Linked DNA regions of Homo sapiens: all the other regions are linked to region 3. The links are contacts of gene promoters, found by promoter capture Hi-C in blood cells and fetal thymus (Javierre and others, 2016). All regions are on one chromosome and are shown on one strand. Each heading gives the region's core, a stretch centred on a gene start or on the middle of the fragment in contact. The rest is flanking DNA. Distances are from core to core; before and after follow the strand shown.

Evidence for each region. The method cuts DNA at HindIII sites, captures the fragments that hold promoters and counts their contacts. A CHiCAGO score of 5 or more calls a contact.
Region 1: the fragment with the promoter of C9orf40 here is called in contact with the fragment with the promoter of ABHD17B in region 3 in 1 of 17 cell types (activated CD4 T cells); the score reaches 7.0 in activated CD4 T cells.
Region 2: a fragment that was not itself captured here is called in contact with the fragment with the promoter of ABHD17B in region 3 in 1 of 17 cell types (total B cells); the score reaches 8.5 in total B cells.

What each region holds. Positions count from the first base shown.
Region 1 is chr9:74,951,520-74,955,050 of GRCh38, reverse strand. It overlaps C9orf40 (chromosome 9 open reading frame 40), which reads left to right and starts at 2,139. Exons shown (of 2, transcript NM_017998.3): 1 at 2,139-2,865. The coding sequence starts at 2,440. CARNMT1-AS1 (CARNMT1 antisense RNA 1) reads right to left here and starts at 2,086. Exons shown (of 5, transcript NR_121183.1): 1 at 1,934-2,086. RefSeq lists silencers at 2,158-2,367, 2,638-2,847 and an enhancer at 3,178-3,247. The HindIII fragment of the contact is 1,820 bases long and covers 1,578-3,397 here.
Region 2 is chr9:75,024,518-75,028,229 of GRCh38, reverse strand. CARNMT1 (carnosine N-methyltransferase 1) reads left to right here. Exons shown (of 8, transcript NM_152420.3): 1 at 1-218. Among named protein-coding and RNA genes, the nearest start is that of CARNMT1, 1.9 kb to the left of the region's middle. RefSeq lists a silencer at 1-405 and an enhancer at 1,056-1,105. The HindIII fragment of the contact is 836 bases long and covers 1,484-2,319 here.
Region 3 is chr9:71,909,634-71,913,003 of GRCh38, reverse strand. It overlaps ABHD17B (abhydrolase domain containing 17B, depalmitoylase), which reads left to right and starts at 1,811. Exons shown (of 4, transcript NM_001025780.3): 1 at 1,811-2,370. It overlaps C9orf85 (chromosome 9 open reading frame 85), which reads right to left and starts at 1,365. Exons shown (of 4, transcript NM_182505.5): 1 at 1,168-1,365. The coding sequence starts at 1,269. RefSeq lists enhancers at 1,098-1,157, 1,168-1,217, 1,288-1,597 and a silencer at 2,048-2,287. The HindIII fragment of the contact is 4,051 bases long and covers 1-2,817 here.

The sequences.
Region 1 (3,531 bases), core at 890-3,389, 3.0 Mb before region 3:
GGAGTGAGGGAAAGGGAAGGGTATGTGCCAGTGGGGAAGGGACGCATAGGGAGCTTGTCATGTTCTAGTATAGGTAGTATTCTATTTCTGAAACAGAATGCTGTATGTCTTACTATCATTCTTTTAACTACATGTGTATTTTATACAACCTTTTGCATATATGATAAGTTTCACAATTTTGAAAAAATGAGCGTTTGTAAAGAGGAACACAAAAGAACCAACCATTAGCTAAACTTATTATTTTGGGGGTACTCAAAACCTTTCAAACAGCACTTGATGACTACGATTAAGATCTTTCCTGCTGATTTAAAAATGGCAAAACTCTTCCTCTGTTTGAGACAGACGGGTTTTCAATTTATTTTTTTTTTTTTGGAGACAGGGTCTCACACTGTCACCCAGGCTGGAAGTACAGTGGTGCAATCTTGGCCTCTGCCTCCAGGGTTCAAGCGATCCTCCCACCTCAGCCTCCCTGGGACTACAGGTGCAAGGCACCACCTCTGGCTAATTTTTGTATTTTCTGTAGAGATGGGGTTTCACCATGTTGGCCAGGCTGGTATGGAACTCCTGGGCTCAGGTGATCTGTGCACCTCATCTTCCCAAAAGTGCTGGGATTAAAGACGTGAGCCACCGCACCCGGCCGGTTACCAATTTCAAACAAGAAAAGTAAAAACCAAACAGAAAAGCTATTGCTTACTACCCTAACTTGGTACATTTCTGTGCTTGTTAATAACTAATAATTAACTTGTCCTCTCACAACCACCTTGAGATGCAGGGGTACAGGGTAAATTAGTACTGAGATAGTACCTAGCACTAAAATAGAATTATCTTTCTTGCACACTTTTTCTACAGAGGATGATAGTTTTTCCCTTCAAAGCACTGGTAATAGTCTTATTTTCTTCCTTCCATTTCTGCTTACTTGGTTACTGTCTTTATCAAACTATTAAAATAGTAAATACGACCAGATGCGGTGGCTCACACCTATAAACCAAGCACTTTGGGAGGCCCAGACAGGAGATCGCTTGAGCTCAGTGGGGCCCGGCTGCAGTGAGCCGTGATGGCACCACTGCACTCCCGCCTAGGTGGCCGAGAGAGACCCTGTCTCAAACAAAATAAAAAATAAAAATAATAAAATAGTAAATATACTGCAATTGTCTCCACCTCACTTCACCTGACAACACTATTTTGCTGTAATGGCCATAGAATCTTGATCTGACCACCGCCCATAGTAAGCAGGGAACTCAGCCTTCCAACATTAATTAAGAGCCCAACAATTTTAGGTTTCAGTTAGAAAGGACAGCTGCGCTTCAGGCTTGGTTCTTGCCAACTACTCAGCTATTTTGGATGAGCTGCACATTTTGTCTGTAACTTCCTCCATAAGTTTTTAATCAAGAGATCTTCCAGGAATGTAGGGCCTGCTTCACCTTCCACAGCAGCTGCGCAAAACATGCAAAACATACACTTCGATTTGTGTTTTCTGTTAGCTTTAGCTACTTCCCTCAGCCCAGACTCCCTTCAGTCTTTTGTTTTGAATAACAACCTACTGTGAAGCTTCTTAAACACTAGTTTTATTTAAAGCTTGTATTATCCTTTTCCTTTTTTTTTTTTTTTTTTTTGAGACGGCATCTCGCTCTGTTGCCCAGGCTGCAGTGTAGTGGTGCGATCTCTGGCTCACTACAGCCTCCACCTCCCAGGCTCAAGTGAATCTTCCTCCTCAGCCTCCCGAGTAGCTGGGACCACAGGGGCAGGCCAACAAGCCTGGCCTATTTTTGATTTTTTGTAGAGACGAGGTCTTGCTATGTTGCCCAGGATAGTCTGGAACTCTATTATAATCTTTGTCTTAATCTCATGGAGACGCCCCCGTGGTCACTGACTGGAGGAAGGAAATACACATTTTAAAGGTTTTAAATTTCCTATAGAAGGGTCTAGAACGTACCGCGCTATAACGAACATAGTAGTAAGACCACCGCCACACTCCTGAGGAAACAAGGTCACGCCCCTCTGCGGGCCGCTTGATCGGGTCTTTAATTAATCCCGCCGCGGCCTTCCCGCCTACCCCCGAGCGCGCACTTCCGGTCGCGAGGGCGCTCGGGAGCGCGCCCCGCGAGCCTCCACCAACCAGCGGCTCCGCCTGGCCAGACAGAGTGCGCGCGCGCACGTTGTGCGCAGGTTCGAATCTCCGCCGCTTCGCGGTTGCTTCTCAACGTCCGGGCCGCATCTCGGCGGCGGCGAGGGCTGAGCGCGGGAGCTGCCTCCGAGCCGGAGCCCCAGCCCTAGGCCCTGCGCGAGCTGCCCCGCCCTACCCCCTCCAGCGTCCTGTCGCCTCCTCGCCCGACTTCGGCCTGTCCCTCTCTCACGCGCTCAGTCCTCGCTCTTCGCCCCCCGCAGCTATCGGCACTCGGTCTCCCGCGCCTGGCGGGCTCCGCCCGAGCCTCTGGGCCCATGGCCAAGCGGCGTGCGGCCGAGCCGGTGACGTTCCACGTGCCTTGGAAGCGGCTCCTGCTTTGCGACTTCGCTGAGCAGCCGCCGCCACCGCCTCTCTGGATCCGGCCGCCCGGGGTCGCGCATGCTGGGCAGCTCCTCGGCGTCCCAGAGCAGCACCGAAAGCGCAAAATCGACGCAGGGACCATGGCAGAGCCCTCGGCTTCGCCCAGCAAGCGCCGTGACAGCGGGGACAACAGCGCCCCGAGCGGCCAGGAGCGTGAGGACCACGGTCTGGAGACAGGCGATCCGCCGCTGCCGCCGCCGCCCGTACTGCCGGGGCCGGGGGAGGAGCTCCCGGGCGCCCGGCTCCCGGGGGGCGGTGGCGACGACGGGGCGGGGCGCGCAGGACCCCCGCGGGGAGACTGGGGGGTCGCATCGCGCCAGGTAGGGGCTGGGGGCGGGTGGGCTGAGGGGCGAAGGGGCTTGCCTTTTCCCCACACACACAAAACGCCCCGGTTCCCACTCATGACTTGTGTAGGTTAAGACGCCTGAGGGGGTTGAAAGAAGGGGTCACCGCTCCGGGAGAGGACGCCGACCGCCAGAAGCACACCCCGAGAGTCCGATGGGCAGAAAGCACTGGGCTGGGCGAGGGGGAAACAGACCGTGGTCGGGAGCGATAGAAGTGGCCTTGCGGCGTCAGCGCCGCGCTCCGTAAAAGGGAAACGGGACCGTGGGTCGTGGCGGGCTGTGAGCATGGCGAGAACGCAGACCGTCAGGGCATAGGTTCAGCCCAAAGACAAACGACAGATAAAGGTGTAGAGGGCCTTCCTGGGTTTAACGATGATTAGTCTAGAATTCGGGATAGAGTTCTTTTTCTAGAGGGAGACCAGTGTGGTAGCCATTGATTAATTGAACGTCCTACCGGCTGGTACAGCTTCTGGAGAAAAGGATGGACCACCGTACCTTGGTCAAAGCTTTGTTTTAACTCATAGTGTTAAATCTGATCCTAGGCAAAAGTATCATTGAAAATTAATTTGGGGGCGGGGCGTGGTGTCTCACGCCTGGAATCCCAGGACTTTGGGAGGCCACGGCGGGTGGATCACCTGAGGT
Region 2 (3,712 bases), core at 652-3,151, 3.1 Mb before region 3:
CGTCGCCCTCCGCCGCCCACCTCCCGGCTGCCCGAGGGCTGCGGGGGAGGAGGCGGTGGCAGCGAGGAGGTGGAAGTGCAGTTTTCCGCCGGGCGTTGGGGCTCGGCCGCGGCGGTTTCGGCGGCAGCGGCGGCGGCCACGCGCAGCACCGAGGAGGAGGAGGAGAGGCTTGAGCGTGAGCACTTCTGGAAGATCATTAATGCCTTCCGCTACTACGGGTAAGGAGCCCGTGGCGGACCCCGGCCCAGACCGTCGGGGCGCCCACTGGTGGCGGCGGACCCGCCGGAACGGGGGCGCTCGCCGTCCCGCCGCCACGCCTCCGAGGCGTCGGGACCCGGCTGCTGCAGCTGACCTCCGGGCCCCGAGTCACCTCGCACCACCCCAGCCCCTCCCGGCCCTGCACACCCGCGTGTCCGCCGCGCCGTCTGCTGCACAGCCTCGTGTCTTCTGACCTCAGGATCAGATTAGCTCTCCTGCCTCCGTCCTCGTAAAGGTTTGGCTTTGAGGCCGATGGGGGTGACCAGAGAAGCGCTGTAACAATTTCAGATAGAAGACGATGGTGGTACAATCGTCCACTGCTGGGCTGATTGGTGTGTGTGGTCGATGTCCTCCAAACTGAACACACGGAGAGCCCAAGTTCACCTACGCGTGGGATGCTGTAGGACGTATTTTCCCAAACTGTTACCAGTGCTTGTAAGAGCAGTTTAAGATTTCCACCCACCCCTCTTTGGCGCTGTGAACGCACTTGCACTTTTGTGTGAGCGATTGAATGATGCTGCTCAGTGTCTTTAACTGGTGGGTGATTAAGGGCGGAAGTGGTCCGGATATTCTAAAATTTGCTAATTATTAGGAGAGATGAGAGAAGTCACAATAAGAGCTGCCTTTACGTTCTTTTTTTCTGCAAATCTGTATCTAATTCTCCCTGGTGTGCTAGGCACTGTGGTAGGACCTTTATGCTCCTCATTCATAAAAACAGCTCCCTAACTTCCACGTTTCTTCTAGATAGATGTTAAAGTAGCTTAATCACAAAATTATAATTCCAAGAGCTGAAAGGGACTTAAATCAACTGGATTTTCAGGTGAAGATAACACTTTTATTCACGTAAGAGATATGAGTCCACCGGTGACTATGTTCTGAGGCTGCAGTTGGAATCAGACAGACATGACCTCCTACGCAGGTAAACCTGTTCCCATAGGTGGGTTCCTGCTGTGCTTTATGCAAAGTTTTTTTATATTGTTCATCTTATGTATTATAGTTGTTTTTATAAATCTCTTGCTTTGCTGTGACCTCCTCAAGGGCAGGGGCTGAGTCTTTTTTATTTTTATGTCACTAGTGCTTGGCATATGTTGTTTAAGCTCTATTTTTAACAAAACAAATAGTAGCAAAGAAATACATTTCTCATTCCCAAATAGTCTGTCAAGTTTTTGACTGATAGTTAAATTAGTTTACTAGTCTGAATTTAGAAGCTTGCTTAGTGAAAGCTTAAAGTTATTTGGAATCTGATTGTATATGTGATAGGAACTTTTGAACTTCGAAGATCTTGATGAAATAATTTACTGATTAAACCCAGAAATAGGGACCAGGGACAGCATTACTTTACGGAGCCCAAAAGAGAAGTTTGGATATTTTATTTCTCCAGGTTTAGTAGTAACAGAGGGAGCAAGGCGTCAGACCATCAGAGAATTGAATTTGATGCAGGAATTGTGACGGAAAGAACCATAAAGTTAGGAAAGGCAGCTAACATCAGATAGCTAAGAGTGGGAGATACAGAAAAGTCTGGTACATTTTGCTCTTGAAAAATCTAGAAAGAATATTGGGAAATGTCTTGGGAATATGGTGGACCCATTTAGTTAAGTGCGTAGTTGTACTTACTTTTAATATATTAGGACCAATTTAAAATTGATATTTATGGGTAAGTATGGGATGGGACTTTGTTGGGGTAGGGGTTGATCAGGAACTGAAGTGTGGCAATATAGAGAAGAGATCTTGTGTGAATATTCTAGTGGTTGTGATACTATTTCCTATACTCTCTTCTTTACCAGCGTAATGTTGGATTCAGGACATTTCATTTTTTAAAAAAAACAGTTTTTATTTGTATATACTCTCTTGAAACACTTCAAATACTTGGGCTGAAAATAGTATAACATCAAAAATATGCTTTTTAAAATGTCACTTAAAGCCTAGGGGTACAGAAAGTTTATGTAGCAGAGAACAGTGGATTGTTACATTCTAATATTTTGTGATCTTCTAGACTTAAACTGTAGCCACTAATCATATCTGGATAAATTTAAGCTAAAATTAATTAGTATTTAATAAGCTTTAAAATTTAGTTGCTCAGTTTCACTACCCATATTTCAGGTGCTCAATAGCTACATGTGGCTAGAGTCTGCTGTACTGGACAGTGCAAATAAAAGCTTTTCCATTATCGAAGTAGGTTGTGATGGACAATCCGGTTCTACACATTTAGCAAGTACAGTTGACCCTTAAACAATATGGATCTGAACTGCACGGGTCCACTTATACACAAATTTTTTGAAATAAACATATTGGAAAATTGTTTTGACATTTGCAACAATTTGAAAAACTTAGCAAACTTGCATAGCCTAGAAATAGTGAAAAAATTAAGAAAAAATTATGCCATGAATGCATATGTGTAGATACTAGTTTATCATTTACTACCATAAAATATACACAAATCTATTATAAAAAGTTAAAATTTATCAAAACTTACACAAACACAGATCTTACATGGAGCTATTTGCAATTGAGATAAATGTAAACAAGCAAAGATGTAGCATTAAATCTTAGTTGCATAAAATTATCTGTAGTAGATACTGTACTACTGTAATAATTTTGTAGCCACTTCCTGTTGCTTTTGCAGTAAGCTCAGATGTTACCAGTATCTTCTTAAAATAATCACTCTGCTTTTGTCTGTCAAGTAAATTGCATATAGCAGTAAACAGATTTCATCAAATTTAATGCAATACCATAAACCTTAAATAACACCATGGGTCCCATATGACGTGCCACTGGTGATGCTGCAGGTGCTCCCAAGAAGCAGAGAAAAAAGACATTACAAGAAAAAGTTGATTTGTTTGATATGTACTGTAGATAGAGGTCTGCAGTTGGAGGTTGCCCCCCAACCCCATTTCAGACAGAGGATTCATCTTGTAATCAAATTATGTAAACTTATAGTATTGATAAATGCAGTGCAGTAGTGTAAATGTATTTTCCCTTTCCTACGACTTTCTTAATATTTTCTTAGCTTTATTGTAAGAATATAGTACGTAATATATTAACATACAACATATCTGTCAGTTGTTTATGTTATTGGTACGGCTTTCGGTCAGTAGTAGGCTATTAGTAGTTAAGTTTTTGGTGAATCAAAGTTAGGTGTGGGTTTTCGACTGCACAGGGGGTTGGTGCCCCAACCCAAGTATTGTTCAAGGGTCAGCTGTACGTCCAGATTTTGCAGGGTTCAATTTTACTGCAAAATGTCTTTTAGTTAATACGTAGGAGATTTAGATAAAAGGTCATAAAGCAAGGAATGTCTTTTGATTAATATTTTCTCTTTCTAATGGGTTTCAATTTTGTGATTCCCACAGATTTTGCTTAGATGACATTCTCATTAAGGTAAAAATGGATATAGCTCATTTGTATTGAATAGCAAAAATGTTAGTTTTATAACCCAGTCTTGTTACGAATGAAGCAC
Region 3 (3,370 bases), core at 562-3,061:
ATCTGAGTGATGCTGGCCCCTAATATGCCCCTGTTGTCAATGATTTTCTCTCCATACAGCTATGGAGACAGGGAGAGAGATTCACAGCAAAGAGCAAATTAGTAGTTTTTTGTTTTTGTTTTTTGAGACGGAGTCTTGCTCTGTCGCCCAGGAGTGCAGTGATGTGATCTCAGCTCACTGCAACCACCGCCTCCAGGGTTCAAGCGATTCCCCTGCCTCAGCCTCCCGAGTAGCTGGGATTACCGGCACCCGTCACCACGTCGGCTAATTTTTGTATTTTTAGCAGATTGGGAGTTTCGCCATGTTGGCCAGGTCGTTCTCGAACTTCTGACCTCAGGTGATCCGCCCACCACCTCGGCCTCCCAAAGTGCTGAGATTACAAGCGCCCGCCACCACGCCCGGCTAATTTTTGTATTTTTAGTACAGATGGAGTTTCGCCATGTTGACCAGGTCGTTCTCGAACTCCTGACCTCAGGTGATCCACCCGCTTCGGCCTCCCAAAGTGCTGGGATTACAGCACTTTGAGCCACGGCGCCCGGCCTGCAAATTAGTACTTATATACAACCCAAGTCCTCTGGCTATCTAGACAGTCTGAATTTTTTAGCAGGACTTTACAGAAGTCCTGCTAAAGATAAACAGCAAAACAAGTATTTTTACATTAACCAAATATTTTTATCTTCAAAACAATTGTTACAAAACAGAAATTTCACACAATACTAGTGAGGACAGCCTAAGACAGCTTAATCATTCACATTTCCTCTATGGGCTTGGGGTTTTTGGAAAAAAAAATCGTAGCTGCATAAACTTGGTGTAAAATTTGAAAAAGCCACTCATGCCACAATCCTCGTTTCCCTCTGCTAATGTGATCCAGATGGGAACGCTGAACGACGTAACTGCCCCATCTGCACCTTAGATTTCATTAGGGTCCTGTTCACTCTGTGCAATTAGTTAAGTGTGCTGACCATCAAATATTTACCAGGAGACAACATGTCCAGGTCAAAGAAAGGGCGTGAGAATAACATTTTAGAAAGAGTTGCACTGCAGCCAAGACTAACTCTGGGCTGCGGTCCACACTCGCCCCAGCCGACTCCTCTCATTTCCTCTCTCCCCTCTCCAGTGAGCCATTCCTTCCTGGAGTCAAAGACGGTGCAACAGGCAGGTTCCTACCTTGGTCTGCACACTTTTATCGAACTTGTCATTTTTGAAGCTAAACGTATTCTGGTGCTTCTGAGGTCTGGAACGAGCCACGTTGCCTTTCTGGGAGCTCATCGCCGAAATCAAAGCCACCCCTCGCCGGGAGCAGGCAAAAGGATGAGGGGAAAGAAAACCAACGAACTACTCCCAGGAATTGACGCTTCTGTCAATGACCCGGAAGAAACAAACGCAGCCTTTCCGCCCCGGCTCTGGGTCAGCCCACGTGACTCTTCTGGGAGGTCAAAGAGCATCGCTCTGCCCTCCCTGCTGTTAAGCCAAGCCACTCCACGCGGCGCAGCCTCGACCCCTCCGGCTCCGCGCAGCCTCTTTCTCAAACCCGGAGAACAAGTCCCACTTTCTTCGAAATGAGAATTCCCCCATTGGCCCGAATGTGTAGTCCATCAAATCAAAGGGGCGGGGAACCTTTGTTCCTATTGGTTCTTCTTTTCCGCAATCCCCGCCTCCTGCTGAGCGAGCTCAGCCTCTCCTTGAGCTCAGAGCGCCTCCCACCCTGCCGGGCGGCCTCTGATTGGTGGAAGTGAGGCAAGGCTGGGCTCCGTCTCTCCCCCCGCCCGCTAGTAGGCTGGAGCCGGGGTCAGCTTTGGCACCTTCCTCCAGTCAGTGGCCAACTCCTGGCTCAGTGGGGATTGTGCTCGTCCCCTCCGTTCCCCTCCAGTCTTCCTCCCGCTACCGGAACGAGCCTCGCGCTTGGCAGGCTGAGGAGGAGCAAAGAAAGCAGGATTAAAGAGAAGGAAGACCTGGCTAGGTCTGGGTGGCGTCTGCAGTGCCAGAAAGGGAGGCGGTGGCGGCGGCGGCTGCGACCACGGCCGCGCGGGACGTGAGGCCCGAGAGCAACCGACGGGCAGCGGCGGCCGCTCCAGCGCCCCGCACCGGGGCCGTTAGTCAGCAGAACGCGAGCTCTTGTGGAGGAGCAGGGCCGGCGCGAGGCGAGACTCGGGAGCGTGAGCGGGGCCCCTGGGGCGCCGCCGTCCTTCTTCGCCCCGGCGCCGGGGGCTGTAGCCCTGGTCCCCGCTCCTCTGTCGGGCCAGTCTGCAGGCGGAGAGAGTCGGACGGCGCCCGGAGCGCGGATCTCGCCTTGTGGAGGACAGCGCGTCGGCTGCGGTTCTCTCTCGACCCCTTCTGCCCGGCGCTTCGGCCCGGGCCGCTCAGGTGCAGGTGCGTGCGGCCTCGGGGTTTGGGGACGCCGCAGCCCGGCTCGGGGAGGGGGCGCTAGGCCGGGAGCCGCAGCGCGGGAGGGACGAGCCCGGGCCGGCGGGGGGAGGGGAGCGGGAAGCGTCTTTGTTGTTGGCGACCGGGATCCCTTCTCGGCACAGGGGAAAGGCGGGGAAGCCACTCCTCATCGGGTCTGTGTTTTTGAGAGGATTCTCTGATGGTTGCGTGAAGGGGAGCGGTAGGACAGTCCCTGCGGTCCGTGGAGCGGCCGGAGTCAGGGGGTGGGGGAGGGAGGACCGACCGACACTCTAAGAAGGTCTTTGGTCCTCCTCGGTGAAGAGAAGGGTTCCATTTCATTTCCTTTGCTTTTCTCTCAGTGGATGAAAAGATGGGGTCAGGTTCCCATTCCCCTCACTGGCGCACTGAGAGATTCGCGGGTGCCTAAAAGCTTTCTCCTGAATGTCCTTATATCTCTGTCGGGCGCGATTTTAGATTGAATCTGCACGGGGCTTGGCGATTTGTGTATTCCGGTGGGGCTGTCGTAGGGTTCTTTTTCTTTAGATGGTTGGGCTTTAATCTTATTTGTTTTCGAACTCTAAGGTAGGCTTATCAGGAATCGTTTTTGAATTGGAAAATTTAAAGGTTTTGTTTGGGATTTTTTTTAACCCCGAAACAAAGTTATGTCAAATTAGATTGTACTGTGTGGGGGCTCTCGTGAAGGAAAGAGTGTATTTAACCTGGGGTTTTTGTTTAAAAAAAAAAAAAGTTCAGATCTTTGATCTTTGGTGAGATCTCTGCCAATGCCAGAAGAGAATTTTTTGTAAATGATGCTTTAAGTCAGTGTGAAGTAGATTTGGTAAGCAAAAGGATGAATAACGGAATACAGAGGGTGACCTTTAAATTTCGCTGTTTATGAAATGTGTTCCTGTTTAATACTTTTTGTGATATATGATGCTTGATCTATAGATGATTCATTTGGAATTTTTTTATGCCTCTAATAAAT